7 separate regions of the Homo sapiens genome follow, and all the other regions are linked to region 1. Evidence: promoter capture Hi-C in 16 types of primary human blood cells and fetal thymus (Javierre and others, 2016). All regions are on one chromosome and are shown on one strand. The core of a region is centred on a gene start or on the middle of the fragment in contact, and the rest is flanking DNA. Distances in the headings are between cores, read along the strand shown. Region 1 holds the start of UBE2W (ubiquitin conjugating enzyme E2 W). Region 2 has its middle 7.3 kb from the start of TERF1. Region 3 overlaps TERF1 (telomeric repeat binding factor 1). Region 4 overlaps LOC107986891 (a long non-coding RNA gene). Region 5 has its middle 13 kb from the start of RPL7. Region 6 overlaps RDH10 (retinol dehydrogenase 10). Region 7 overlaps RDH10-AS1 (RDH10 antisense RNA 1).

Region 1 (4,192 bases), core at 587-3,086:
CAAACAAATCTGCCTTTTCCAGATACTAAATCTAACGAGATGACACACTACGTTCTCTTGTCAAATACAAGTGTTGTGGATTTTAATCTTAATGTTTAGCCTCAAATAATGTTTTAATCTTAATACAGATAATAATCTTAAACTTGTCATAAAAAATGTTTTAATCTTAACACAGATAAAAATCTTTAAGTGGTAATGTAGCCTATTGCATCTACTGTTCAACTAGCATTCCACTGTTCCTTTTTTGGCCTCAAATGACGAAACTTCTCCAACGTCTCTGGGGAGACTAGTGTAAAGTATAATGTTTCCTGAAATTGTTCCTGTTTTTTCCCTGCACCATTCGTGATATCTCTTCAACTAGAAATGTTACATAAAACTTTTCTGTTCTGCAGGCAAGTCCAGAGGGAGAAGCAAGGTAAAGAGAATATTGTAAGGAAAACAGGTTGAAAGGGGAATAACATAAAAGCACAGGAGTAAATGTGAAGCAAAGCTATATTTGTACAAAAGAGGAAGAAGATGCAGAAAAGGGAAGAAAAACACTTTTAGCAGAGTAAAGAAAAAAAAATGGAGGAGGAACAGAGACTTGCTTCTTCCAGAAACAAAAGCAAAAAACACTTCTAAGAAAATGTGGTCTCTTTACCCAAGGGGATATTATGAAAACGCTAAAGGGTACTCAGCTGACACTCCTATTGAGCGTTCTACTTTCTCTTCCAATGCCTTTGATACCGCTAGTCTTCACCTGTGAATTAAATGCAGGCTACAGATAACGCACTCAATCCCTGCACAACTACAATTGTGGTTGCCATCTTTGCCTGGAAACAAAAAACAAAAAAACCCACAACTCCCTAGATTCGGGAAAAAGGAGTAAATTAAGTTGGAAAGCCAGAAAACCACGCCTTGCTAAGTCGGGGGGATATGGCACAGGTTAACAAACGCCTCCTACCAAACTAAGGTTCCACTAAAGGTCTGGGAATAAGGGCAAAGAGATGTATAGCCTTATCGCGACCGCAAGGGTGGGGCCTTGCAGTGGGAAACAAAATAGAAGGCAAGCTATCCCGAGAGGTTTAAGGGGGCTGAGGACTCGGCTCTCGGGAGATCGCCCATCAGGCGGTGGACACGGGGCAGCTTCGAGAGGAAGGAGACAGTGGACTGCTGGAGGAATGTCCGCGAGAATACCGAGGCTGATGGAAATAGAAGATACCCACGGGCACAGGATTAAGAGTCAAAGGGAAGAAGAGAGGGACGGGGCCGAGCAGTCTGGGGGGCCCGGCGTGGGAGGCCGGAGCAGAGGCCGCTAAGCGCCGTCCGCAGCCAGCCGCCTTCTCCGGAGACGCATTCTCGGCTCCCGCACACTCAGCCCCCCGCCGCCCCTGCCCCGGCAACAACCGCGGGCGCAGCTGTTTCCGTCGGGCCAGGGACAGCGGGGGTAAAGGCAACCCTGGGGCTGGCGGGCAGCAGACTGGCAGCGCCCGTGTGTGTGTGCGGGGAGCCGATTCTGAGACCGCCAACGCCAGACTTTGCCCTTTCTTCCCCAACCCTCCTTTATCACCCAACTTCCCGGCCGGCTGGTGTCCGCTTCGACCGACGGATACCGCACCCCCCACAACGCCTCTCGCCGCCTCTTACCCCTCCCCCGACGCCCTGAGCTGAGGGAAAACAGGCCACCCGGACCGATCCCGAACCCGCCCGGGTGTCCCCGAATCGCGGACGCCACCCCCGCCCGAACGCTGGCACTCTCTCGGCGGCTCCCTGGCCCGCCCAGATGCAGCAAACTCCTCTCACCTGCATTGACGCCATGATGGAACCATCCCCCCAAGACCGGCGAGGCCAGAGACGCAGGGGGAGGAGCTGCCGTGCTCGCGTCACGCCGCGGGGGCTCAACATCCCGGGCGCGGGGGCGGGGTCTGCGATGGGAAGGGGATGGAGCGAGGGGATTGGCTGGCGCGCAGGGCGGACGGGAGGAGGGGCTACGGGGCGGGGCGAGGGCGCGGTAAATGGCGCTCTGAGTACTTTCTGTCTCAGTCCGGCTGGCCGCTCACGCGTCGGGCCCCCATTTACTCTCGTTACTGAGGAGACACGGCTCCAGTTTTGACCCGACTACGGTTGTTTTCTTCGTGTGTACCGCGAAATGCTGATGACGTCCGGTTCCGCGCAGTTTTTTTCCTATTTCGTTTCCAACCACAGTTGTGCGGTTCACAGATTTTTCCCTTGGGATGTGTTTTCCATACCTCCAAGCCCACTCTCAGAGCCTTGGGGCCCCATAAAACTTCATGCGCAGCTGCTTTCTGGTATTTGCAGACCTGGAAGGCTTCTCGTATTCTTAATTTGGGGAAGAGAGACATAGGTTTCCTTGTACAACGGGATGAGGATTTAAGAGCAGAACGACACTGATATTTTAAAGGCGAGGGTATTTAGATTTGTGGAGCTGAAACTTGCCTGAAAAGGGAGACAAAATTTGGAAGTTTGTTGTGTGCAGTTTCTGCCCCTTACCCCCGCCCTTCACTTTTAAACTGCGCATATATCAACAATAGTTACGGTTGTTGCAGCAGTCTAAATTTGATTATCAGAATTGACCCTAGGCATGAATTTTTTTTTAAATATACCAATGTCGTGTTATATACACTTATACCATTATGTCCAGACTTCTCTTAAGCATAGTTCGTGGTGGGCAGTTTTGTGGTCATTTAGGGATGAACTTGGGTAGGGAAAGCTGAGCATACATAATTTATTTTAGGAATGCACCAGTTCTGCCAACATTTATCAGAAGTCACGTTTTTAAAAAGCTATTCTGGAACTGAAGATGTCATTGGTTTATAAGAGGAAAATGGAAGCCAAAAGCTTACACCTCATGCTCTATCTTTAAAAATTAAGGTGGCAGACACAATGAGTAGAAGGCTTTTATGTTACCAGAATGAAGGCTTAAAATCTGTCATTTTATTGACTCGGCTTTCTTTTTAGAAATTTCTTTAAGATATAAAAGCAATGTGGAATATCACTCTTTCACACTCTTAAAATAGATTACGTTCTCTGGAACTTCTCTAATCTGAAATGTGTTCAAAAAGGAAAAAGATCTTTAAAATACGCCAGTTAGTCTATGGTATAATATTAAACACTATTCATCACTAGAGAAGTTATGGTGGTATACCCTCCCCTTTCTCAGATGTCCACCTTAATGCCAGAAATGAGCGGAGTTTCCCTTTGTTGTGCAAAATGACTGTGTCCTTGAGGGATGTTTGGATGCTCTTGGTAAACCGGAATCAGCCAGAAGCATATCCGGTGTTAGCCTTGTTGTGTCATCAACATTACAACAGTGAGGAAACCCACATATTCCAATGAAAGAGGAAAACTTAAAGAAGAAGTTTCCAGTGTATTTTCTTTGAGATATATTTATTCCTATGACCTCAGAAGATCAGCTTTTACCGTCCAAGGTTCACTTTGCCTAAAAGCTGATTGTTCCTGTGGAAACAGTAGCATCGGATGACCCTACAAACAAAGCATTATGACATCATCAGAGCCAACAACCTGGCATGACAGATACTAATAAGGAAAAAAGAGGTTACAAGAATTCTGACACTCATCACAGTGGATCCAATATCTGGTCCCTTGGGTTTCATATATGTTAGAAGTATCTTCTCAGGAGGGAAAAGTCAATGCCAGTCATATCCTTTCTAGGTAATACTAAATAGCACATAATAACCTGTCTTCTTTTTTTTTTCTTTTTCTTTGAGACGGAGTCTCAGTCTCACCCAGGCTGGAGTGCAATGGCGCGATCTTGGCTCACTGCAACTTCTGCCTCCCAGGTTCAAGTGATTCGAGTAGGTGGGATTACAGGCGCACACCGCCACGCTCTGCTAATTTTTTGTAATTTTTTTGTATATTTTGTAGAGATGGGGGTTTCACCATGTTGGCCAGGCTGGTCTCGAAGTCCTGACCTCGTGATCCACCCGCCTCAGCCTCCCAAAGTGCTGGGATTACAGGTGTGAGCCACTGCGCCCGGCCATTCTTTTGTTAATATTTAATAAAAAGATCCTGACATAGGAGCCAAAACAGTGACTTACAGATGGTATGGGGGGTATATAATTATCTCCAGTGAGCATGTAATGTTAATATCTAAAACACTATTATGCCATGTTTGAAGACTAGGCTCATATTTCTACAGAGCGAGGCTTACTATCATTACTATCAGATAGGC
Region 2 (4,192 bases), core at 620-3,119, 880 kb before region 1:
TTGTGACCAGCCTAGGAAACATAGCAAGACCCTGGTCTATTCAAAAAAAGAAAAAAAAAAAAAGTCGAAGGGAACTCCTGCCTTGCCCCTTCTGCCAATTAAAAACACAAAAAGAAAATACCATCTTCGAAAAACAGAACAGGCTGTCACCAACACCTCAACAATCAGTGCCTTGATCTTAGACTTTCCAGCCTCCAGAACTTTGAGCAATACATTTTTATTGTTTATAAATGTCCCAGTCTGTGGCATTTTGTTATAGCAGCTCAATTAGACTAAAACAGTGTGGTTGATATGATCATTATCATTATCATCATTAGTATCTGTCTCAGAGGACTTGGTCTGCCCTCCTATTGGGAAAGGGGGCAAAGATAGAAACTGAAGGTTCTGTTTTTTGTGGATAAACAGCAAATCTGAGAGTACTATTGAGTTCTTAATAGCTGATGTTTTCAAATCTATAAGGAATTTCATTGATAAAAATGTTTTCTACTCTTTGAGTATCAATTTTCTTCTAGCCATGTCTAAGAAAAATGTAACAGATTCATTCAATATCAACTGAATGTCCACCACATGATAAGCAGTTTTCTAGCCATGGGGATACGGTAGTAGACAACACAGACAAAAATGCCTTCCTTAGCGTATCTTGTTTTTTAATGAGACTGACAAAGAGAAAACTAAAATACCATCAGTTAGTGAAACATGCTATGTAGAGTACTGCAGATAGAAAATATTTAAATAGTCAAAGAAAGTATCTCTGAAGAAAGGTGACATTTGAATGAAATGGGTTGGCAGGGAGCAATACAAATATTGGAGAAAACAATCAAGTCAAAGCAAGTGCAACGACCCTGGAACAGGAACAAGCTTAACCTATTTGAGGAATAGCAAGAAGGCCAGAATGGCTATAGCAGTGGTGGCAACAGACAGAATTTTTAATAGATATGGTTAAAAACTAGGTAGGGAAAATATCACGTAAGGCCCTGTAGTCTTTAATAAAGAGTTTGGGTTTTATTCTAAAAATGATCACATATCATGGTAGGTTTTGAGGAGGCGAATGACAAGTTGTGATTTACATTTTAGAAAGGCCATTCAGATTATTGTGCAAAAAATCGCTGGGTGCAGTGGCTCATGCCTATAATCCTAGCACTTTGGGAGGCCAAGGTGGATGGATCACCTGAGGTCAGGAGTTCGAGACCAGCCTGGCCAACATGGTGAAACCCCCATCTCTACTAAAAATACAAAAATTAGCCAGGTGTGGTGGCAGGTGCCTGTAATCCCAGCTACTTGGGAGGCTGAGGCAGGAGAATTGCTTGAACCCAAGAGGTAGAGGTTGTAGTGAGCCGAGACTGTGCCACTGCACTCCAGCCTGGGTGACAGAGCAAGACTCTGGCTCAAAAAAAAAAAAAAAAAAAAAAAAAAAAAGACCATGTCAGGGCAAGAGTGGAAGCAAGGAGAGCTATTGTGAGGCTACTATGTGGGCCATATGAGACATGAGGGTCACTTGGCTGAGGGTGGAGATGCAGATCATGGTAAATAGTCAGATTATGGATCTATTTTGAAGGTAGAGCTGACCAAAGCTGTTGAAGGACTAGATCTGATGTGTGAAATAAAAAAAGGAATCAAAGATGAAATTTGTGTCTTTGGCCCAATTAATTGGCTAAGTGAATGGCAGTGCCATTGACTGTGATGGGAAAGATGAGGTAAGGTCTAGTTCAGTGGTGTCCAATCATTTTGCTTCCCTGGGCCACATTGGAAGAAGAATTGTCTTGGGCCACACATAAAATACAGTAACACTAACAATAGCTGATGAGCTTTAAAAAACACAAAATAATCTCATATGTTTTAATAAGGTTTATGAATTTGTTGGGCCGCACTCAAAGCTGTCCTGGGCTGCATGCCACCCACAGGCCATGAGTTGGACAAGCGTGGTCTAGTTTGATGGGGTATGGGTTATATTTGGACTTGTCAATTTAGATGCACAAAAATCCAAGCAGTGATGTGGGGGTGCTCAGCAGAAATTTTAGAGAGGGAGGTTTATGTTTGGGTCTCAACAGGATCTAGATGATATTAAACAGAGAGAATAGATAAGATCAACTAGGGAATGAAGTTCAAAGGCTGAGGTTAAGGACACTACAACATTTAGAGTTTAGCAAGAAGAGATATAGTCAGCAAGGAATACTAAGAAGTGGCTAGTGAGGTGTGAAGAATACCAGCAAAGGATGTTATCCTGTAAGTCAAATAAAGAAAACGCATCCAGGAGGAGGGCATGATCAAATGGGTCAAGTGATCTGAGTCTTCTATAATCTTTAGATATCATGGAATAAACTTAATAACTGTTAGCTGCATATATTTGCCTGGTAGTTTACAGCAGCATTTCTCAAATTGTGTTTGTTGCTATTGAAGGAAATCAAAATATTTTACCCCAAAATATATTTCTTTGACATATTTTGAAATGGCTGCCACCTGGCCAGCAAATAGAAGTGGCCTTGCAAAGCTGTCTTTTGTGGGGAAAATATGCATCTGTAGAGAATTTCCATTAATGCCGCCATGCCCCCTCCCCTTTCTATGCCTTTCTTGAATCCAGGAGAGGCTGAGTGTTTGACCGTTTTAAAAGTCTGAAAAGAAACATTTACCATCTATTCTCTCCAAGGGAGGTTTCATTTACATAACAAGGCCACCTTTGCTAGCCAAGATTGTTACTTTCTCCCTCATCACCTGCTGATTTATCAACATAACCTGTTTCTGGCCACCCTCTGAGTCTGTATTCTTTACTGTGGCTCAGGATGTTGGGTCTTCATTCTTAAGGCTCCCATGTACACACATTAAATAAATTTGTATGCCTTTTCTTCTGTTAATCAGTCTGCCTTACATTAGTGATTTTTCAGTGAAGCTTTCAGTGGTCAAGAACCTATGGTTCCCGGAGTACGATAATTATATAGGATGTTCTGCAAAAAAAGGAGTGCAGTGATCAATTATGGGACATGTTTCACTCAGAAATTCATGATCCACATTAGTGTATTTAAAGCTCTGAGAAGTCCATAGAAAAGAAAACTTCTACCTTTTAAAAACAGGAATCCCCCAAATTGTTTTTTCTTAAAAATCAGATTGAGGATAACCTACAAGCAGGAAAATCCAACCATTTTAGGGGTACAATTCTGAGTTTTTACACAATCACATAACCACCCCTGCAATCCCAATTGTTTTTAAGTCACAAATCATGCCATCTATCAATGGCTCTAGTTCCACTTTAAAAATGACTGTTGCCAGTTTACAGAGCACTTTCGGATGTATTTTTCCATTTAACTCTGATGTCAATCCTCTGAGTTTGGAACCATTATTTCCAATGAGACAGATAAAGAAAGAGGCATAGAGAGGTAAAGAATCATCCCCACAATCACACAAAGCTACTCAGTGAAAGAGGTAGATTAAATGCAAACATTCAGATGAGTTAGATTTTCACTTGGTATAGTGGAAAGATAACACTGGATAAGACTATCAACAACCACAACTATTCATTGAGTCCTTCAACCACCAAACACCTCTTTAAAGTAGGTGTTGTTATTCTTACCTTACAAATAAGAACATAGGAGTAAAGTGTCTAATCGATTTGCTCAAGGGTAAAGAGAAATTGGTGGAGAAAGAATTCAAACCTAGGCTGGGCACGGTGGCTCATGCCTGTAATCCTAGCACTTTGGGAGGCTGAGGCAGGAGGATCACTTGAGGTCAGGAGTTCGAGACCAGCATGGTCAACACGGTGAAACCCTGTCTCTACTAAAAATACAAAAATTAGCCCGGCGTGGTGGGGGCCCCTATAATCCCAGCTACTTGGGAGGCCAAGGCAGAAGAATCAGTTGAACCGGGAGGTGGAGTTTGCAGTGAGCCAAGATGGTGCCACTGCACTCCAATCTGGGCAACAGAACAAGACTAATCAAGAAAGAAAAGAAAACAAAAGAAAAAAAGAGAAGAGAAAAGAAGAAAGAGAGAGGGAGGGAGAGAGGGAGGGAGACGGGGAAGGAAAGGAGGGAGGGAGGGAGGAAGGAGGGAAAGAAAGAGAGAAAGAAAGAAAGAAAAGAAAAAAGAAAGAAAGAGAAAGCGAGAAAGAAAGAAAGAAAAATTCATATCTAGAACTCTGACTCCAGAGCCTGAAATCCTAACTGCATGGGATTGTGCTGTCCAGTATGATAGCTACCAGTCATAC
Region 3 (4,192 bases), core at 838-3,337, 850 kb before region 1:
TTAGCCAGACATAGTGGCACACGCCTGTAGTCCCAGCTACTTGTGGCGGCTGAGGCAGAAGGATTGCTTGAACCCAGGAGGTTGAGGCTGTAGTGAGCTGAGATTGAACCACTGCACTCCAGCCTGGGTGACAAAGTGAGACTTGTCTCAAAAAAAAACACATTTCTAGTCAGGCGCGGTAACTCACGCCTGTAATCCCAGCACTTTGGGAAGCCAAAATGGGTGGATCGCTTGAGCCCAGGAGTTTGAGACCAGCCTGGGCAACATGGCAAAACCCCGTCTCTACAAAAAAATTACAAAAATTTAGCCAGGCATAGTGGCGCATGCCTGTAGTCCCAGCTACCTAGGAGGCTGATGTGGGAAATCACCTGAGCCCAGGAGGTTGAGGCTGCAGTGAGCTGTGATTGTGCCACTGCACTCCAGCCTGGGTGACAGAGTGAGACCCTGTCTCAAAACAAACAACAATAAAATTTTTCTAATAACATTTTATTTTCTGTCTTGGCCTCCAAATTTTTAAGTTGACAGTGTTATAGTGGAGCATCTTGATTGATTTGAGATAGTTTTTATTTGAAAATATCTAGAATTTTTATTTTTTTTTTTTTTCATGCAGCCTTTTCTCTTAAAATTGCCTAGAGAGCATTTTGTCTATCAAATATATTTACAAGGAAAGACCACCTTCGTAACGCTGATAAACCAAGCAGATAGCTAATGTAGCTGCTGGCAGTGTCATAATTATTGGTGAAAATAACAACACAGTGCCCTTCATTGGCCTGTGAACAGATACATTAGCTATGACTATCAAAGAATTACAAGGCTTAATTTAATGCTATTTGTTTAAAATGGCTTAATGCATTTCTTCCTATCCTTCTACCTCCACGCACGTTTTTTAAGGCAGCGGCAAAAGTAGTAGAAAGCAAAAGGACAAGAACAATAACTTCTCAAGATAAACCTAGTGGTAATGATGTTGAAATGGAAACTGAAGCTAATTTGGATACAAGAAAAAGGTTTGTAATTTAATCAATTTGTATATTTTTTGTTTTATGAATGTTCTGTCTTTATGTAAAATTGATATGTCTTTTTATTAAAAATAATTATTGAGTAGCATGTTATCTTGCTGATGATTAACATTTAGGTATTTGAAGTACTGTAGAGTTATTTCATGACTTGTGCAAATTATATATGCTAAGCAAAAGTAGAGAATAAGAAAATATTACAGTTTAAATAATGTGGATAGTTTACCATTCTTGGGGTATGCTTAGGAACAAGGGTGAGGTTGGACTCCTGTGCCCCTTAGTTGTGTTTAGATTCTACATGTTCTCATTATGTGATTCATGTTTCACTGTACTAAGAGTCTAGTATTTTAAGATATTATTCATATATCTTCTCTAAGCATAAGCTCACTGCTTCATCTGGTGCTCAACTGAAGAAATAGTGATTTGCTTTAATACTGGAGGAAAACAAGTTGTGTCAGTCCTATATATTGAGAGATAGTTGTTAAGTCTCCAAAATTATTTTTTCTTTAGGGATTTTCAGGGGTGATTGTTGTCTTTTGTTTTAGAAGCTTAAGTATCTTCCCCTATTGAGAAAGATATAACTCTTAACATTATAAAGATCTTCTTTTCTGTTGAACCCATGGTCTGTTTTCTCTGTTCTTCTACCCTTAAACCAAGGCCAGATAATCAAATCTCTGTGGTCTCTGGATGGGTATATTTGGAAATGGATGTAATATTACTTTCTTCTTGGGACCATGACCTAAGTGTTGCAGGGACCCCATCTTAACTACTTATTTAGAGGTGGAGATTGGGGTTCAAGTTGGATCTACACTGCATTTGTCACATCTTAGGACTGAGGTTCTGTCATCTTATAGTGGCCCCTCCTATTGTTCCTGCCTGTCAAAGCATGACTTGTTCCTCAGGGGTTCATCTCTCCAAAGGCTGTACTAAAGTCTTATTTCACATTGATGTACTTTTTTCTAAACTCCAATTTAAGAAGTAGAGATTCCATTTTTATTGGCCCAATTACTTCCTTTTGTTTCAAAAATCAAAGTTGAATGATACTAATACCCAGTACATTCTTGTGGCCAAGCCATCCTGCTCATGATAATATTGCTAATACCATGGTTCTTACAGATAATCATGAGCACACTTCCTATGGACTCTCCTTATATAGTGCTACCCACTTATTTCAGATGCTCTCCTAGACACAAACACAGTGCAATCCATGTGTACCAAACAGAACTCTTCATGTTCTCATTTGCCTCTCTACACCCTGCCTCTCTTTAACCTCACACATCCAGCTGCTCTCCAAGTATTAGGAACCGCACCTCAGAAATGCTTCTCCAATCTATTTTTATCTATATAGCTTTGTACCATTCAAATCCATCCTTGACATAACTTCTAGAGTTAGCTTCCACAAAAATAAATCTCTTTAGATCACTCCCAGCTTAAAAACCTTTTGGCTCCTATTTCCTACTAGATGAGTCAGAATTTATTGGCATGGCTTATAAAGCCTTACGTAGACCCATTTTTTTTTTTTTTTTTTTTTTTTACATACAGTCTTATCCCTAAGCATGAACTCCTCCCTGTCCACATACATGGTACTTTCTAGCAGCACAGAAGCTTTGTTCCTTCTATTTGAATTCCTATCATTTTATTCTCTCCAAGGCAAGCTCTTCCTTGCCATTCAGTCTATCTCAGAGATCACCTATATGAAGTCTTGCCCAGCTCTGTAATCAGAGTTGTTACTTCTGTGCTTTCATAGCATACATCTCTATAAAAGGACTTATCTTCGTTGGTAACTTATTTGTTTACCTGATTCTTTCAATAGATTGAGAATTATTTGAAGGTTCTTACTTAGCTTTGAAGCATCTTAATTAGCTTGGTATCCTTGTTGCCTCATTCATTACCAGGCATACATTAGAACTTGCTGTACACTAGTTACAGGGAACAAAACTAAAACCAGAAACAGGGTAAAGATCAAGAATCGAGCAAATACCAAAACCATCGTGGAAGCAGAACCAGGGCAAATAAAGCATCAAACCACCAGTGTCATGACAGTTACCAGTAAGGATTCAAGTAAAGCAAGTATAGAATCAGAAGTGTGATTGTGAGGTCAGACAAATCCTAGAAAAATGGAAACCTCCATGTTATGAAGACTAGATGAAATAAATATTTTGCTCTGATAAAGCTTATACAGTTGTTCCTTGGTGTTTGAAGGGGATTAGTCCTAGGACATCCATCCTTCATGAATACCAAAATCCATGGATGCTCAAGTGTCTTACAAAAATGGTGTAATAGCCAGGAACAGTGGCTCACACCTGTAATCCCAGCACTTTGAAAGGCTGAGGCAGGAGGATCACTTGAGCCCAGGAGTTTGAGACCAGCCTAGGCAACATGGCAGAACCTTGTCTTTACAAAAATTAACCAGTCTTGGTGGTGCATGCCTGTAGTGCCAACTACTTAAGAGGCTTAGGTGAGAGGATTGTTTGAGCCCGGCAGGTCTGCAGTAAGCTGTGTTTGTGCCACTGCACTCCGGTGACCCTCGGCGAGACCCTGTCAAAAAAAAAAAGGGGGTGTAATATTTGTATACAACCTACACACATCCTCCCATATACTTTAAATCATCTCTAGATTACTTAAAATATCTAACACAGTGTTGAAATAGTTGAGATGGACAGCTTCATGGAGGTAGTAGTCTTGAACAGGGGCTTTTGTAGGATGGTTAAGATTTTTACAGATGGATAGAAGAGGAAATATCATTTTAGGAGAGAGGAATATTACTAGTGAAAGCATGGAGGTGTAAATAGTCATGCTGTGTGTATGTGGAAACCATTTTAACTATAACAAACGGGAACTTAATCGATTCCCAAAAGTTCAATTGGAGACTGGTGGGGAGAACCAGAAATTAAAATTGAACCCATCAAATTGTATACTTTAAACATGTGCCATGCTTTTTATGTATCAATTATACCTTAATAAAGCAGTTTTTAAAACTTGAATTCATGGAAATAAAGTGCCGTAGAAGAGTTTTTGAAAGAGTGTTATAAATGCTTGACTACACCATTAATTATGCTTATGTTTGGAGAAACTTGGTTTAATACCTCTTATAAGCATGTCTGGACAAGAATTAGCCATGTTGTAATGGACTGTATATGTCCCGATGTTACCAAGGTTTCTTTCCAAAGTTATTTTTT
Region 4 (4,192 bases), core at 1,032-3,531, 710 kb before region 1:
TTTGAAGATTATTCCCGAACTTCCCCTTGACTTTTTCTCTCCAAAATGGCCTCTTCCTAGTTTTTCCATCTTCATGCAAAAATAACATCTACCAATCTACTTTTTCATCTTTGTGGCTTACCTCTGAGTTTTCATCTTACTTTTTCCTGTCACTCATAAGTTGTTGAGTCCAGAACAGAGCACAGTATTTTGAGGGCGTGTGTAGTCAGTGCAAAAATGCCCAACATCCCTGCTTCCTTGGAAGGTCCAAATGCCTTAGAGCCTGCGGGTATCTCCTGGACTCTCCAGGCCCAGGCAAATCTGTTCGGAGGCCCGTGGAGTCCTAGCATGTCTCTGATTATTCGTGTTCCATCCATACACATTTTAGGTCAGAAACGGTGGAGGAGGAACCTCAGAGACAGACCCTCTAACGTCTTAAATAGAAAGTCCAGTTTAGCACTCAGGTCACGTGGGGGCCTAGAGCAGTGGTCCCCAACGTTTTTGGCACCAGGGACTGGTTTCATGGAAGACAATTTTTCTACAGACACAGGGGAGATTGTTTCAGGATGAAACTGTTCCATCTCAGATCATCAGGCATTAGATTCTCATAAGGAGCACACAACCTAGATCCCTCACATGTGCAGTTCACAATACAGTTCATGCTCCTGTGGGAATCTAATGCCACTGCTGATCTGACAAGAGGTGGAGTTCAGGCAGTAATGCTCACTCACCCACTGCTCACCTGCTGTGTGGCCCAGTTCCTAACAGGCCACACACAGACCAGTACCAGTCCATGGCCTGGGGGTTAGTGACCCCTGATCTAGAGGACGACTAAAAGCTTAGCCAGGTCCTAAAGCCTCCACAGAAGAACAAACTAACTAATTAATTATTAGGGGAAATCAGATATACAGATCACTCTGGACCTTGCCTAACTCTTCCCAAAGTCATCCAATCATCCAAAGCTGCTGTGCAGAATGGCTTTAGGGGTACTGAGAGATCACAGAGAGACGCCCCTCTCCCCAGCATTATGGAAGAAATTGTATGCTGTGTCTAAATTTCAATTTCCTTAACACACTTGAGCTCCATTTAGCAATGCTACGTAACACTTGCCCTGCCCACCTGGCAATGGTGTGAGAATGAGTCACATAGGGTGACACTCTGAAAACTGGCAAAACCAATGGAGGACAGAGCGGGGTGGGGGCAGCAGGTCCTAAGAGCAAGCTTTGACACAGTCTGTCTCTGAGCTGACAGAACTCCTCCAGAACCCTGGATGTGTTTCTGTTCACCTGTGGCCTTGGACCTGATGTTTATGTAAGAACTCATGGAGAAGATAAATGTGAACAAGTCATTAAGGAAACTCGTGGTCTGCCGTATTTCAAAGCCATGCCCTCCCTGGCCACCACGGGCCCATGTGTGCATGAACCCACTCCTCAATACCTCCTCAACAACTGTGGTTGCACCAAGCAGTGAGTGTGGAGCAGAGCGGCAGAGTTTCAACACTGTCCTAGCCCTGGACTGTCACTGAGGTCAGCCACAGATTGGCCACCTGGGCAGGTTCAAGGACTCAGACTCAAAGCTTCCATATTCTGGCTGTGCACGGTGGCTCACACCTGTAATCCCAGCACTTTGGGAGGCTGAGGTAGGTGGATCACCTGAGGCCAGGAGTTTGAGACCAGCCTGGCCAACATGGTGAAACCCCATCTCTACTAAAAATACAAAAATTAGCCAGGCGTGGTTGTGTGTGCCTGTAATCCCAGCTACTCAGAGGCCGAGGCAGGAGAATCACTTGAACTAGAGAAGCGAGGTTGTAGTGAGCCAAGATCGCACCAGTGCACTCCAGCCTGGGTGACAGAATGAGACTCCATCTCAAAACCAAAAAAAAAAGCTTCTATATTCCCTTGGGGCTGAAAGGGTAGTTGTCAAATGGCTGCATATTGTACAATCTACCCAAATGGTGGGAAAGTTATTCTCTCAGCAGTTTTATGATGATTGCTGGAAGCCTGTGAGTTCAGACTTCTCAGCTCATATGTGGGGAAACTGAGGCCCAGAGAGGGGGTGATTGGTCCAAGGTCAGACAAGTCGTGGCAGAGCCAGGTCTGAACCTGGCCTCTCTTTCCTTGGCCATTTGGGCTCCCCTTTGGAAATTCTAGACCATCAGCCCACTAAACAGGACGAGAGAGAGTCCTCCATCTCTCTCTTTGACATCTGACAGATGGGGCATGTCAGCTGCCGTTTTCTGGTTCAGCTCAGATGGTGAAGGCAGGGGAGGGAAGTGGTTTTCTGGTTCAGCTCAGATGGCGAAGTCAGGGGAGGGAAGTGGGAGGCAGGGCTGAACGTCATGTGTGTACATTTCACTTCTTTCTTCGCATTTTGGTTACATTTAACAATGTGTTACCTCTTCACAGAGTCATTTATATCATTTGCAGGAGGCCAAGAATGACATCAACATCTATTAAAACCTAACGTTTCATGTTCTTCACTGTAAACACTCACATTGCTTTGTTTCCAGATATAAACGCAAAGTCATTCTCAAGTTGAATGGTTTCTTTCCAAGAAACTTGATGTTACTGTAATGAAATTTACCTAATTAATCTCCTTAAGGAGAGAAGGAATCTGATGATGACTGTTAATGAAGACCTCAACGTTCTTCTTGTAATCAGAGCAAGGCAATCTACAGATTCGTTGTGGGAGAGACCATAACTTTCCAAATAAATCTCAGTAAAGCTTTGCAGACAGGGCACTTGAGTTGCTTCCCCACTTGGCTGGCTTGCTTTCAGCCTCGGTGAGCCCTGTACAAACTTCTCCAGAACTCTGGATGTGTTTCTATTCACCCATGTCCTTGGACCCGATGTCTGTGTAAGAACTCATGGAAAAGGTGAACGAGTCACGGAGGAAATCCTTGGTCTGCCCTACTTCAAAGCCATCCCCTCCCTGGCCACCGTCTGCACATCGTATGCATGAACCCACTCCTCAATACCTTCTCAGTAGTTTGGTTGCACCAAGCAGTGAGTGTGGAGCAGAGCAGCAGCTACCCTTTGCCAGGGGCTTCCCTGAAGACCAGTGAAGCCATCCACACAAATGTAACCAAGAATTTCTCCTTGCAAAGGAGCAAAGTGTGTCACCAGGGTATAGGAGGCCACACTGGGATGTAAGGAGAACACTCTGTCTGTCTCCTGGTCCCGAGATCAAGCGGGCCACAGGAGAAGTGGAACCCACAGGGAGGAGCTTTGTGAGAGATACCACTCTGTAAAGATGTTGAATGAGTGCTGGCAGTTATTAACCCTGGAACTGGGGATCAAACAGATATACAGGGAATCACTGGGTGGAAGCCTGGGAAGGATGGGTCAGAACAGTGTGGCAGAGTTTGAGAAGTTATAAAGAAAGCTTAGGGATGCAGCAGGAATCCAGTTTTCAAGGCTGGGGCAGCCAGTCAAGGAGGCAAGTACCCAACAGTAACTGGATCCTCAGCCCCCGAAAACAGAGCTGAATCTGTTTAAGTCCTTACTGATTCAGGACATGAGCAGACTAGGAAGGCAGGTGGGTCTGGGTTTGCAGATGGCAAGTGGGATAAAAGATATCAAGGCAGGTAACATGCTAGACTTGACATTATTTCAGCAAACAAGGCCATAAATAGTCCCAGGAGGCCACTAGTGACCTGAGTAGACTTTTCAAGAACAGAAGCCTTCCACCACCCCTCCCCATCTTCCATCCCATCAGTGGAAAAACGTTGATTCATTCACACTTATCTTTTACATGTGTTCTTACATAGCCATCAGGTCCAAGGCCACGGGTGAATAGAAACACACCAAGAGGTTCTAGAGAAGTTTACAGGCCTTGGTATGATAACATTCTGGAGTGATTTATCCCTAAAAGTTCATGGTGGTCATTCAGTGCTATGTTGCTCCACTACCCTTTTAAGGGATCTGGAATCTGGAACTGGGCTCAGCCTTCATTATAATTGCTGGTTCTATTATTTGTGTCCCATACTAGATTGCAAGCTCCCCAAGGGCAGGAGGCAGATCGGTCTACTTCTATAGATCAATTTCTGATACAGTGCTAGCACAGAGTTAGCACTCAAGAAATATTTGATGAATGAATGAACGAATGAATGACTAATGGTGGCAGACAGAACAGCTATGCTCAAGCATCGCCTTCCTCCTTCCTCATATCACATCCCTGCCTCCAACAACTATGGGGTTGTCTGTGAGACTTG
Region 5 (4,192 bases), core at 509-3,008, 600 kb before region 1:
GACAACTCTTTTTTTCTTTTTTTCCCCCTTTTTAATTCTCATTTTAGCTACCCTGTTAATTAAAAGGACAATTCTTTGTTGTACCAAACTGTCCTAAGTATTACAGGACATTTTCCCAGTCCTTCTGCTCTTCTTCATATGGTCTTGTTCTTGTCTTATGGTTTCCATTCCTTCACCTTCTTGAATATGAAAAATTTAAATTTTTTTCTATGCCATTCTATTTAGTTTTAGGGTACAAATCTCCCGTTTGCAGCATCTGCCAAGTCTGCTTCCTTGCAGTTAATTTCCTTACATATTCTGTAATCTTTGCAAACTCATCTATAGAGAGATCGATATCTATAGAAGTCAAGGATTCCTTGAATTACAGGAACTTTGCTATGCAGAGAGGTTTTTCATTGATCTTTGCCTGGCCCTGGGTGTCAGAGGTACCAGACCAGCTAAAATGTCAATTTCTTGGACTACGGTCCTGACCATGTAGTAATATGAATTCAGACCCCAGACTTGAGCTAGTATGGACCATTAATCTCTAATCTCTAGCAGCTGACTCTTTTCTTACCATAGCTCAAGTAGATGGCAAGCTTCCTTCTTGCCTCCTCAGGTCAATAAGGGGATGTTTTTCTAGTTATCTTCTTAGGGTCAAAGGGTTCTTGTGGTAGATTTTATTTTTCAAAGATAGGTGTACTAATGCATATGCAGTCCCACATGCTCTTCCTTCACTGTGATGTTCCTCCTCTCCTCCATCAAGAGGTGAGATGTTTCTTTCCCTGAAACCAACTTCCTCAGCCAAACAAAAAAACAGTAGAAACCACACTATGTGATTTCCAAAGCTAGGTCATAAAAGTGATATGACTTCCACTTGGCTCTCAGGACACTCACCTTTGAAATCCAGCCACCATTTTGTGAGGAAGCCAGGTGACATGGAGAGGCCACATACAAAGATTACAGCTGACATCTACAGCTAAGGTCTCAGTCAAGAGCCAGCATCAACCACCAGACATGTGAGTGAATAAACCTTCAGGAGATTCCCGTCCTGAGCCTTCAAATCTTCCAGCTGAGGCTCCAGACATCCTGAAGCAGAGCCAAGCTGTCTCTGCTGTGCACTGTCCGAATTCCTGACCCACAGAATCCATGAGCACAATAAATGGTTGTTTCATACCACTAAGTTTTGGAGAAATTTGTTATGAAGCCATAGTAACTGAACAGTACTTCTTTGTGACTCCCAGCTTTCAGCAGATGGCTCAACGGTGGCTTTCTCTGTGAACATTCCTTCATTTCAGGCACCTGGGGATTTCCTTTTCTTTGTTCCTAGCTTAGCCACATTTCCATAAATTATCTTTTACTCAGCATTTGAAATATATTGAAGCAAAATGGGGACCCTTCCATGCCAGCTCAGTCTGCCACATTGCCCAGAAGTTCCCAGAATAGCTTTTTAAATAATGACATAAAGAACTGAATAATTTATTTATTTATTTTTAAACGGAGTCTCACTCTGTTGCCCAGGCTGGAGTGCAGTGGCACGATCTCAGCTCACTGCAACCTCCACCTCCCAGGTTCAAGCAGTTGTCCTGCCTCAGCCTCCTGAGTAGCTGGGATTACAGGCACATGGCCCCAGGCCCAGCTAAATTTTTTTGCATTTTTAGTTGAGAAGGGGTTTCACCATGTTGGCCAGGCTGGTCTTGAACTCCTGACCTCAGGTAATCCACCCACCTCGTCCTCCTAAAGTTCTGGGGTTACAGGCATGTGCCACCACTCCTGGCCAGTAATTTATTTTATATATACACATACATATACATATATATATACACATATATATACACATATATATATACACACACACACATATACATACATACATACATATATACATATATGTATATATTAAAATCAAAAAAGAAAAGAAAAATAATCCTGAGAGTGCATTTATTAAAGACCAGGTAACTTGTTGCAGAGAAAATACAGTCAATAAAAAATTCATTCTCTCTAGTACTCAAATAAAAGGCAGATAATATAATGAGCTACTTTCGCCAATCAAAATGGCAGGGATTTTTTTCTTTACTATTAATAGAGTAAGATGGAGTGCAAGGAATAAGGTTTCAGTGGGAGTATATATTGGTGTAATATTTCCAGCGAATAATCTAGTAATATACATGTCCTTATAATTGTATATATTTTTGACCCAGCAATTCTACTTCTGGGAATTTATCCTAAAGAAATAATCACTGGCCAGGTGTGGTGGCTCACACCTGTCATCCTAGCATTTTAGAAGGCAGAGACAGAAGGATCTCTTGAGCCCAGGAGTTTGAGACCAGCCTAGGCAACATAATGAGACCCTGTCTCCACAAAAAGAAAAAGAAATAATCATTGATACATGAATATCAATTCCTGTATTTCTTATAATAGAAAAGAGAATGAAAATAACTCAAATGTCAAACAGCAGGTGGCAAAATAATCTTTAATTTTAGGGTTGTTTGAACCAAAATAATTACCAAGTGAACATAAAGAAAGATGAGTTATAGATTCATTGAGAAAGATATTTATTTATTCATGTCATGCATTGTGCTAGTAGTTGTAATACAACAATGATTAAAGATAAAGCACATGGTCTATGGGAGGTAGTGGGGAGGAGTAATTAGTTCATTACGATAAAGCTACGTTCAAATTCTATGGCACAACAGAACTTTTGCTGACCTTAACCAGACTGGAGAAGTAGGAAGGTTTTCTTTGTTTGTTTGTTTGTTTATTTGTTTGTTTTTGCTTTTTGAGCAAGTGATGTTCAAGCTAAGTCCCAAAGGTTTTCACAAGTAGAAATCAACTGTGGGAGAGAAGGTTGTTTGTCCACTAAAATCCTGGCTCCTCCTCCAGAGAATAGCGTTTGTTCTAGGAAGTGGCTGCCTCCCTGTGACTGGAATGTGAGCCAATGTAATGTGTAACACTGCAAGAAGCTTCTAAGAAGCTAAGCAAGTATGCTTTCTCCATAGTTTCTCCTTGCCTTTCTGCTGACTGGATTTAGACAAGAGTGAAGTGCTGACGAATGGCAGAGTCTGGGTCCTTCTACCAAGTGAAAGCAAGCCGTTTGCTGACCAGGGACGCCTACCTTGAAATTGTTATGTGAGCAAGAAATAACTTTTCTATGTTAAATCAAGAAAATGTTGGGATCTGTTTGTCACTACAGCTAGCAATAGGCTAATACATGTGACTTTTTATTCTCAAATAATGTAGTAACTCACTTAAATATATTCATTAAGCATGTACGATATACACATAAATGTGTCACGTGCACAAAAAACACACAAAAATAACTAAAGAGAGATTCTGCCTGCACAGAATTTCCAGTCCAGAAGAAAAAACAGTAGCCACTTATACAACTATAATACAAAGCGGTGTGTATAAATTAAATCCTTAGGAGATATATAAAGTAGTAGAAGAGTTAAAAGGAGGGAGATATTACTTTCGGGGGAGATTCAAAAAAGACTTTAAAGAAATTAGAAAATGGCATTTAAATAAGATTTAGACGGCAGAAATGTAGGTAGAGGCATTCCAGGAAAAGATATAGATGGGAAAGATGTCACAGAGAATGTAATGTAAGTACTCTGGATTGCCTGGAGGGAGGGGTTCAGATAAAGGCAGTGTGAGAAATAATGAAATGATAAATTGGATGAGATTACAGACAAATCTGAATGCTGGACAAAGTGGTCTATATTTTCTTGAGTAATGTGGAACCACAGAACAGACATATGGTATATATTCTGAACAGAGGTATGGTTTCTATTCACAGCTATGCTTTAGAAAAATTAATATGGCAGAGACTGGAGCCCAAAAGAGAAATTACAAGGCAATCATAATAGTCCAGAGTATTTAGAGTGGTCACAGTGAGAATGCAAGATTGATTATTTAATTTGGGAGATTCAGCAGAGAAAAAGGAGTCAAAGCTGAATGAGGCTGGGAATTGAGGTGACTGAGAATTATGGAACCATGAATTAAATTCAAAGAGGACATGCTAGTCTGGAGGTGGAGGGCAACAAGGAGTTCTGTTTTAGAAAAAAGTGAGTACAGGATATCCAATGGAGATATATAATCTGGATCTATGCAGTATGAATTGAGGTACACAGGTTTGAAGATGAAAATGTTAAGAGTTATCTACTTACACGTGAGAAATAAGGCCAGAGACTGTAATAAAGTTGGCAAAGGAGAT
Region 6 (4,192 bases), core at 456-2,955, 580 kb before region 1:
GCTGGGCACGGTGGCTCACACCTGTAATCCCAGCACTTTGGAAGGCCAAGGCAGGCGGATCACTTGATGTCAGGAGTTCGAGACCAGCCTGGTCAACATGGAGAAACCCTGTCTCTACTAAAAATACAAAAAAAGTAGCCGTGGTGGTGCTAGCCTGTAATCCCAGCTACTCAGGAGGCTGAGGCAGGAGAATTGTTTGAACCCGGGAGGCCGAAGTTGCAGTGAGCAGACATGGCGCCACTGCACTCCAGCCTGGGTGACAGAACAATACTCCATCTCAAGAAAGAAAAAGGTGAGCATTATGTTGGACTAAAGCTGTGTAAGACCATTATTGCAAACCAGGGCTGTCTCACCCTTGTTGTCACTCATATTTTCTTTTGCTTTCCTACATAACTTTCCATTCTCCCTGTCCCACATGTGTTCTGATTTTTACTATTTTGTGTTAGAACTCTGCTCATTGGTGTGAGGCTAGTGACTTGATAAGGCTGGTGTTGGTATGCCAGTTTGAATGAAGCTCACAATGAATGTGTAACAGCCATTCATATTTACCAATGATCAGTCCTCAAAAAGAGGACCCCCTTGGCAATTCTTTCCTTCCCTCTTAACCATGTACCATTTCTGTACCCTTTGGAAGCCTTTCCTCAGCCTGGCATAATTCTGTACAGCCTTCCAGTCTGCTGTGACGCTTCATCTTCCAATGTTGTTCCATCACCAGTAGCTCTCCTAGGAACCTTCTCCTGGTCACCAGTCAAGACTTAGTGATAGATTTGGGGTAGGTTCTAGTCAGCATAATCTACTGTGAAACACCCAGTACAAGACCATGGAAAATGAATGCACTATCATGCACTTTAACACTAGCATAGAAATTATTCATGTGGGCTGTTTGTATCTGGGTGAGATGTAAAAACTTGAAAGATACCTCTCTTGGGCGGGGTGCAGTGACTCAAGCCTGTAATCCCAACACTTTGGGAGGCCGAGGAGGGTGGATTGCTTGAACCCAGGAGTTCAAGACCAGCGTTGGCAACATGGCGAAACCCTGTCTCTACCAAAATACAAAAATTAGCTGGGCGTGGTGGCACGTGCCTGTAGTCCCAGCTCCTCAGGAGGCTGAGGCAGGAGGCTGGCTTGAGCCCAGGGGTTGTAGACTGCAATGAGCTGAGATCGCAACACTGCACTCCAGCTTGGGTGACGAGAGCCAGACTCTGTCTCAAAAAAAGGAAAAGAAAAATATCTCTCTGTATTCTACTTTGAAATATGGAAAGTTGGTCTCCATGCAAACCCATGTTTTCCTCAAAGTACTAACATTGCTTTACTTGTTATTTTTTAAGAGAAGTAGAATCTTAGCTTGCTATTTCTAAAAGCCAAAGTTTATCTGTAGATCCTTTTTAACCGAAGAGCTGCATTTGGCCTTTATACGTGAGCAGCAAATTGATCCCTGATTAACCAAAAGGGGGAAGCAAAAGCATTTAACTCCAGGCCTTTTATATTCTGAAGAATTTTTGCATGGTAAAGGACTAAATCTGTCAAATAGCTAGTAGGTAATTTACTTCTATTGATATGGTAGTCAGACAAGATAATTGGTAGTTAATTAATAGACCACTTAACTTAAAAGGTTTCACAGTTTTAAAATACTAATTACTGAATTAAGCATTTATCTATATCCAAATGTCTAAAGTCTATTTAGTTAAAATCTATCCAGGAAAAGTAAAAGCCCACCAGCTAGATCTGAGTAATGTAGCACTTAAAGACATTAGTGCTGCAGTTGTACCTAATATCTCATAAATGGTCCCTAATCATTAATGTTTAGGTTCTTATGTGATTTACTGGTTTTTAATCTCACATACTGCATTCCTGTGTTCTCTGGTTACAGAAACTAGTTTTGTTCAAGGTTTCTTACATTTAGAATTTCAAAAATCATTTCTAAAGTATTCATAAAAATATTTGGCCAGTATTTCTCCTTACCATAATAACTGTAAGACTAATTAGTTTATAGAGAATATTGATTTCCTATCTTAAGATAGCTACTAAACACTTGGAATTCATGGCCTATTTTTAGAAGTCTCCAGTAGAACTGGTTTCTGTTATTAAATATATGTCATATGTATAAAAATGTTTGAACTTTAGAAGTACTTTCAATGTCTTAAACAGAGTTGTAAATTGACCTGGGGTCAATTTTATCTTATTCTTGTAGTCACAGTTGAAAACTGAGTAAAACATCTCTTTTGATAGGAACTGCTTGGTACCTGGGACTGAATACCTATATACACCAAATAGGATCACATGCTCATTGAACTTTGAGTTTCTGTATTTGATACATTACATGCTGGGCCCAAATCTGTTGCTACTAGAAATCAAAATCTATGACATGATAAAATATCACTTTACATAGCTGGTGTGAATAGGGAACCAGACGCTGCATCAGATAAAAAGTTCTCCAACATCTTCAATATGTTCTAATCTGTGTCTGTTTTTCTCAGTTGTTTAAAAAATAACTGCTAAATAACCAATGTCATAATTTCTAACCTAAATGAAAAAAACAGCAATGCTCCCCTCATTGCCAAATCCAGTGTGCAGCTTCATCTTTCTACAGAATGTGACCCTCTTGACCGTCTCCTTGAAACTCAAGTGCTTTAGCTTCCATGATAAGCCCACTTTGTCGTGCTTCTCTGTCTGCCTTCAACTACCTTGACTGCGCCACACATTCTCTTAAAGCAGCATGTCACAAAACTGAACAAACTCCTCTTTGCTCCTTCTTGCATTCCCTGGTCACCAGGCTTAGAAACATCAGCATTATCTTCACCTCTCCAGCCTGCGTACATTCATGGGTCCCCAAATCCTGACTATTTGCTTGTGCCCCTGTGCTTTGATTGATCGCCCCTTTCCTTTCCTACTTCATCCTGTGTGCCTCCATCACCTCTTGCCTGGACTCTTGAAAGTGCCTCTGATCTTCTTTTCCTGTATTCGCTTTTGGCTTTCCAACCTAGGGTCATCTAAGCAGCCTTGAGTTTGTTATCTGCCTGCTTAAAACACTTGTATGACCATATTGCTCACAGCGTGAAGTCCAGGCTCATTAGCATGGCATCCTGGGCCTTCCAAAGCTGATTTCCACCTGCTTTTCCAGGTCAGCACCTATTTATCCCCTCATCTACTGTAAACTTCAGATGGGCTGGACTCCTCACTGTGCCTGGAGAGAGCCTTGCACACACTTATGCTTCACACAAGAGCCTCTGCTTGGCTGTTCTGCCATTTGAGTCCTGTTTTACTTGAAGACAACAGAAGTTGAATAGTTCAGAAAAAAATCCGTCACTATTCCTGAGAAAGAAAAACAAGTTCAAAACATTTTCATGTTCACTTAATAATATCTTTATATGTTAAGATGGCAGTCCCTGTAAAATAGTCATGAAATTCTTGGCTCAAGGAATGGCCCTTTCTTGTTTGATCATGGAGTGAGTTGTGTTATTTATCTCAATTCCTGGAAGGAAGCAAAGTTGGTATTTGTTCTTTTCTGCCTCATTATTTCTACATCCCAGGCTTTATCCATTTTCTGCCCAAATAAAATCAATCTATAGGATATGTCAAAGTGGAAGCATTGTGTAGCCTGTGCTAATGCTAACACTGACTGAATAGCTTTCTCAAAAAGACTGAATGCAGAGTGCCCCGGCAGAGCCCTTAGCCATTCATTGCAGGATTGGGTCACTACAAACCCTGTAGTTTAATACTTAACTGCTCACACTCCACTTATTCTCTTCTCCTACATTTGTTTTTACTCTGATCATGCTTCAGATTTTTGAGATCTTTGGGAAATTCTAATGAATCGGTTTTAGTAACTTGAATATATCTAACCCATGACAATCTGAGAAAATTTAATAGCCTCACCTGAGAGTTAGATGAATTTTAAGTAGGAAACCCCTTTACATTTAAGTTTTGTCTTGAGTTGAGAAATATTAATAGCAAATTCATCTAAAATTTCTGCTTTAGTTCTTTCAGAAACTAAAATTAAGCCTCTTTCAATTATGGTAAGTAGTCTATTTGCATGTGTCTAATCCAGATGTCTGCCTATATGGATAAATGTGCAGATGACATGCTATGTTTGTTTGCTTGCTTGTTTTTCTATGCTCAGTAATAAGTAGAAGACATGATTATGGTGCAGTTACAGCCACTGGACCTGGGAAAGAAAGTCCTAAATACCCAG
Region 7 (4,192 bases), core at 466-2,965, 550 kb before region 1:
GTTATATGTTTCCATTTCTCTTTATCAAAGATAACCAAACCTTATGGCCCTTATAACAATGGAGGCACTGGCTGCCTCTTAATTTTCAATCATGGACCTAAAGAAGTACTCTGAAGGGTCTCAACAATGCCAGGTGGGGACAGATATACTCAGAGATTATCCAGGTCTGCCTCCCAGCGAGCCTGGAGTACACCAGACCCTCCTAGAGAAATCTGTTATAATTTAACAACCCACTTATCCACCTTAAAACTGAGGAAAGTCGTCTTTACATCTAATTTTATTCTTGTGTGTTATAACTTAAACCTATTTCTATTTTTGTTTGTTATTGCCCTTATAAGGGTGTCCATCTCCAAGTTCAATAAACTAATTCATTTAACTTTTTTGTAGAAGTCTTTCATTCCCATGTCCCAGCCCAGTTCAATCACTTCTGTGGCTCTTCCTTGAATGTTGTCCATATTCTCCCTCCCATCTTTAGCTGTGGAGTTTGGAAAGGGATACAGTTAATGCAGGTTTAGAACTATGGAATTCCTACAAGTTGCATTTCTTCATCCCAATGTCACGTTCTTATTAATGCTACATTGCTGATTGTGTGCATTATTGTTTCTAAACATGAAATCTCTTCTAGACAAGTCTGCCTGTTTGTGTTGATCACTTATGTAATTGCCAAGGTTGCTTTTCTGGCTGGTTATTTATCTACACCTGCCCCCACCCCTTAACATGAATGCTGACTTTGAATATGTTCTCTTTTTTGTCATCTGGCCCATTCATGTGAATGTTCAGGGCCACTGCACTCAAGGCTGATCCCCTAAGGAGCACCACCTCTGTCTGTGAGCACCACCCCCAGCTCATACTGGCACTCTCCCTTTCTCTAACCTTTCAACCAATTTAATGATAATTATATTGAGTGGGACCCAGGAATCAAAAGTTTTGAAGCCAACAAACATAAATTCCAACTATTGTTTTCCCCCTTGATCTACCAGGTCTGCTGCTCTGTCACAAAAGATTAGATTAGCCTGACAGGATTGAGCTACGTAAAGCCAGGCTGGGGTGTGTGTGTGTGTGTGTGTGTGTGTGTGTGTGTGTGTGTGTGTGTGTGTGTGTGTGTGTGTTAGGTATCCTGTTTCCTTAGAAGGCTGTAGCTTTCAAATTTTCTCAAGTTAAAAGAAAATGTTTTCTTTTCCAACTGGCAGAAATAATTCTAAATTGACATTGACCTGAATCTTGGAAATTTGCTTTTGCCTCCAGCAAAATATAAGATCAGTAGGGGTTGGGGGAACAGGGTCATTCTTTCTATGCCAAATGTATTGCCTGTGCCTGAGTCAGAAGAGTAGGGAAAGCAAGGATGTAATGGTTCGGAAGTGGTGAGATGTGGGCCCTGGGCACATGTAGTCAGCATTTGCACACCAGGCATCTGCCGAAGCGCCCATCCCAGGGACTCGAGCGTGCAGGTAACTCACAAGTACACATGTAAGTACCTATGTGCACATGCCACAAATGAAGCCTCAGAGTATGATGACATCTCAGTAAGGGAAGGAAAGGTGGCCTGGAAGGTTGGTGATGCAATGGATGGATTTGGGAATGGGAGTTTGCAGATTCCGGGGAACAGATTCTCAGGAAAGGCCCAGAGATCAAAAAAAGTAGATTATACTCATTATGACTGAAGCATAGAACATGGGAAGAGAATGACATGCGTTCCCTAAGGAGATCCCATCTTGAGAATGGCCTTCATTCCAGGCTGAGGAATGGGCCCTTCATTTGATACAGAAGAGAGAAGCCCTAGAAAGTTTTTTTTAGCAGGAAAGTAACAGAAGCAGAGTTGTAAGTTAATAGGATCAATGAAGCCGCTGTGAAGAATTTCAAGGCACAAGAAGTAGGGAGCAGTGAGGAAGGAAGTTATTGCAGTAGTCCACGGGGAGGTGCTAAGAATGGGCCAGCAAGAGAGGGGGATAGGGAATGGAGGGAGAAACCCAGGCTGAGCAACCGATACCGCAGGAGGTTGAACTTGCAAGCCTAGGTGACTGAAGATAGCTTATCCCTCGAGCCAAGTGGTTTTAAGTGGGAAGAACAGAATTCACCAACAGTGAATCTGATTTAGAAATGTTGCATTTGAGATGCCGGGTGACAATAGCTGGCAGACAGGCGAATAATCCTGGCCCTCGGGAAACAGGTTGGTGCTGGGATCCTGAAGTCATCCACATAGAGGCTGTGAAGTGAACAAACCTGGGAGGGGGAAAGCACAGAATGAGTGGAGATCCAAGGACCCAGCTTGGGGAATGTGGGGGAGCAGCAGCAGAAGGTGTAAAAGGTGACAGAGTAAAGTTAAGAAGGGAACTTTCTCCTCCCAAGGAGAAACCAGACTAGAAATAATTATCTCCTCTGCTTGGACCTAGTCCCCAGGCTGAGTCACACTTAAGAAACCTCAGTCTGGCCCAAGAAAAAGAGTCTGTGTGGCCAGCCCTGGGGCAGAGGCCCAAAAGGTGAAGGGCAGTGTTAACAGACAGCACATGGAGGCTTCGACCATGCACTCGGGTTTCTAGTAACTGAATCCATTGTTAAAAGGACCAAAGGAAAATTTCTTCCTGAGTGAATCCTGGAAACTGTTGTTCTTTGGCAATTTTCTTTGCTTGGCCTCAGAAGCATGACTTGCTTAGATGTGCAAGCAATGTTTCATCAGAACCCTGGGGAAAAACAAAATGCACTTTGAGTATCACCAAATGGATACATGTTAGTGCAAATGAACTATTTTTATGTGCCAAAAAGATGAGACAGGACCTGCTTCTATCAGGGTGCTCAAAAAGACGGGTTCCTATCTGGTCCTTGAAGCACTAAACTCACAGCGGGCCAAGAACCTCTCAGGCAGGTCCTGGGTCAAGGTGGACATGCAGTGACTCCCAGCTTTCCCAGGAAATGTCACGGCAGAGCAGTGTGGAACCACAGTCTTGCTACTGTTTATTATGACGCTTTCTGGGGATTGCAGTTCCTACATTACAATAGCTATACCAAAGCACCTACACATTTCACAACTCATCTATTATTTGGGGGAAAGCATTGACAACACACAGCCACACAGTCCAGAGAATCCTGCTCATTGAGTAATTATTTCTCATTTAACGTGCTCCGTTGCTGTAGAGAACTTAATGTCTTCCAGGAGCTCCTCACAGGCTTTTGAGCTGTGACTGTTGAAACATTTCTACCACTAGCAAAACGCAAGAGAATTGATTAGCAAGAAAAACAAAGCATCTTCAGCCCAGATTCTAAGTTTGAGGTTTTCCTGTCAAGGTGATTGAAACCATGCTGCAGGGAGAAACGTGTGTGCATAGCAGCCATGAAGAATGCCCCTCTCCTTGTCCATACCTCATGGGTGGTCCACCTGAATGCCACTCAGCAGGCATCCCCTCCCCCTAGGGAGGAACCTGAGCCCAGCTCCTCCAGCCCTCTGCTAGCAGGTGGCCATCTCCCGGCCAGCCCAGCTTATCCAGGGCCTGAGTGGTCCAGGAGGCTAATGAGCAGATGGGAGTCCTGCCTGGACACAGGCATACTTACGTATGTTGACAGCACAGTATCCGGCAGCCACAGAGTTCCTGCTTAAGAGCTCAGTGTTGTGGATTGGATCATGTCCCCTCAAGAGATGTGTTGAAATCCTGACCCCTAGTCCCTGCAAATGTGTCCTTACTTGGAAATAGGGTCTTTGCAGATGTAATCAAGATGAGATCATTTTGGTCAGGCTCAGTGGCTCATGCCTGTAATCCCAGCACTTTGGGAGGCTGAGGTGGGAGGATCACTTGAGTCCAGGAGTTCAAGACCAGCCTGGATGACATAGTGAGACCCCATGTCTACAACAAATGAGAAAATCAGCTGGGTGTGGTGGTGCACACCTGTAGTCCGAAGAATCGCTTAAGCCCAGGAGTTTGAGGTTGCAGTGAGTCGTGATCGTGCCACTGCACTCCAGCATGGGCGACAGAGGGAGGCCCTGTCTCAACAACGAAGAAAGATGAGGTAATTTTGGATTAGAATAAGCCATAAATCCCATCACTGGTGTTCTTATACAAAGAGACACAGACACACACAGAGAGAAGATGCCATGTAACAATAGGCAGAGATCGGACTGACGTAGCTGCAAGCCGTGGAATGCCAAGGAATTGTATCAAGGACCAACAGCTAGAAAAGAGGCATGGAGCAGGCCCTCCCTCAG

What was found. The method cuts DNA at HindIII sites, captures the fragments that hold promoters and counts their contacts. A CHiCAGO score of 5 or more calls a contact.
Region 2: a contact is called between a fragment that was not itself captured here and the fragment with the promoter of UBE2W in region 1, in 5 of 17 cell types (naive CD4 T cells, naive CD8 T cells, total CD4 T cells and 2 more). The highest score is 8.7, in naive CD4 T cells.
Region 3: a fragment that was not itself captured here is called in contact with the fragment with the promoter of UBE2W in region 1 in 1 of 17 cell types (non-activated CD4 T cells); the score reaches 5.6 in non-activated CD4 T cells.
Region 4: a fragment that was not itself captured here is called in contact with the fragment with the promoter of UBE2W in region 1 in 1 of 17 cell types (total B cells); the score reaches 7.8 in total B cells.
Region 5: a contact is called between a fragment that was not itself captured here and the fragment with the promoter of UBE2W in region 1, in 8 of 17 cell types (naive CD4 T cells, total CD8 T cells, non-activated CD4 T cells and 5 more). The highest score is 7.9, in naive CD4 T cells.
Region 6: a contact is called between a fragment that was not itself captured here and the fragment with the promoter of UBE2W in region 1, in 11 of 17 cell types (naive CD8 T cells, neutrophils, total CD8 T cells and 8 more). The highest score is 10.4, in naive CD8 T cells.
Region 7: a contact is called between a fragment that was not itself captured here and the fragment with the promoter of UBE2W in region 1, in 1 of 17 cell types (M0 macrophages). The highest score is 5.2, in M0 macrophages.

Annotation. Positions count from the first base shown.
Region 1 is chr8:73,877,026-73,881,217 of GRCh38, forward strand. UBE2W (ubiquitin conjugating enzyme E2 W) reads right to left here and starts at 1,837. Exons shown (of 6, transcript NM_018299.6): 1 at 1,783-1,837. The coding sequence starts at 1,797. LINC01617 (long intergenic non-protein coding RNA 1617) reads left to right here and starts at 1,957. Exons shown (of 3, transcript NR_147034.1): 1 at 1,957-3,672. RefSeq lists enhancers at 520-569, 1,046-1,923 and silencers at 1,310-1,569, 1,590-1,639, 1,780-2,069. The HindIII fragment of the contact is 3,471 bases long and covers 1-2,836 here.
Region 2 is chr8:72,999,441-73,003,632 of GRCh38, forward strand. No RefSeq gene overlaps it. Among named protein-coding and RNA genes, the nearest start is that of TERF1, 7.3 kb to the right of the region's middle. RefSeq lists enhancers at 1,109-1,653, 1,654-2,196, 2,197-2,740, 2,741-3,283. The HindIII fragment of the contact is 2,026 bases long and covers 857-2,882 here.
Region 3 is chr8:73,026,049-73,030,240 of GRCh38, forward strand. TERF1 (telomeric repeat binding factor 1) reads left to right here. Exons shown (of 10, transcript NM_017489.3): 6 at 892-1,004. Among named protein-coding and RNA genes, the nearest start is that of TERF1, 19 kb to the left of the region's middle. The HindIII fragment of the contact is 1,057 bases long and covers 1,560-2,616 here.
Region 4 is chr8:73,166,291-73,170,482 of GRCh38, forward strand. All of the region lies in intron 2 of LOC107986891 (a long non-coding RNA gene), which reads right to left. Among named protein-coding and RNA genes, the nearest start is that of SBSPON, 75 kb to the left of the region's middle. The HindIII fragment of the contact is 839 bases long and covers 1,863-2,701 here.
Region 5 is chr8:73,278,916-73,283,107 of GRCh38, forward strand. It overlaps a transcript of C8orf89 not described here. Among named protein-coding and RNA genes, the nearest start is that of RPL7, 13 kb to the right of the region's middle. The HindIII fragment of the contact is 2,364 bases long and covers 577-2,940 here.
Region 6 is chr8:73,301,477-73,305,668 of GRCh38, forward strand. All of the region lies in intron 2 of RDH10 (retinol dehydrogenase 10), which reads left to right. Among named protein-coding and RNA genes, the nearest start is that of RDH10, 9.0 kb to the left of the region's middle. RefSeq lists an enhancer at 2,768-3,269. The HindIII fragment of the contact is 9,398 bases long and covers 1-4,192 here.
Region 7 is chr8:73,324,906-73,329,097 of GRCh38, forward strand. The region is part of intron 3 of RDH10-AS1 (RDH10 antisense RNA 1); the gene reads right to left. RDH10 (retinol dehydrogenase 10) reads left to right here. Exons shown (of 6, transcript NM_172037.5): 6 at 1-376. Among named protein-coding and RNA genes, the nearest start is that of RDH10-AS1, 29 kb to the right of the region's middle. The HindIII fragment of the contact is 8,611 bases long and covers 1-4,192 here.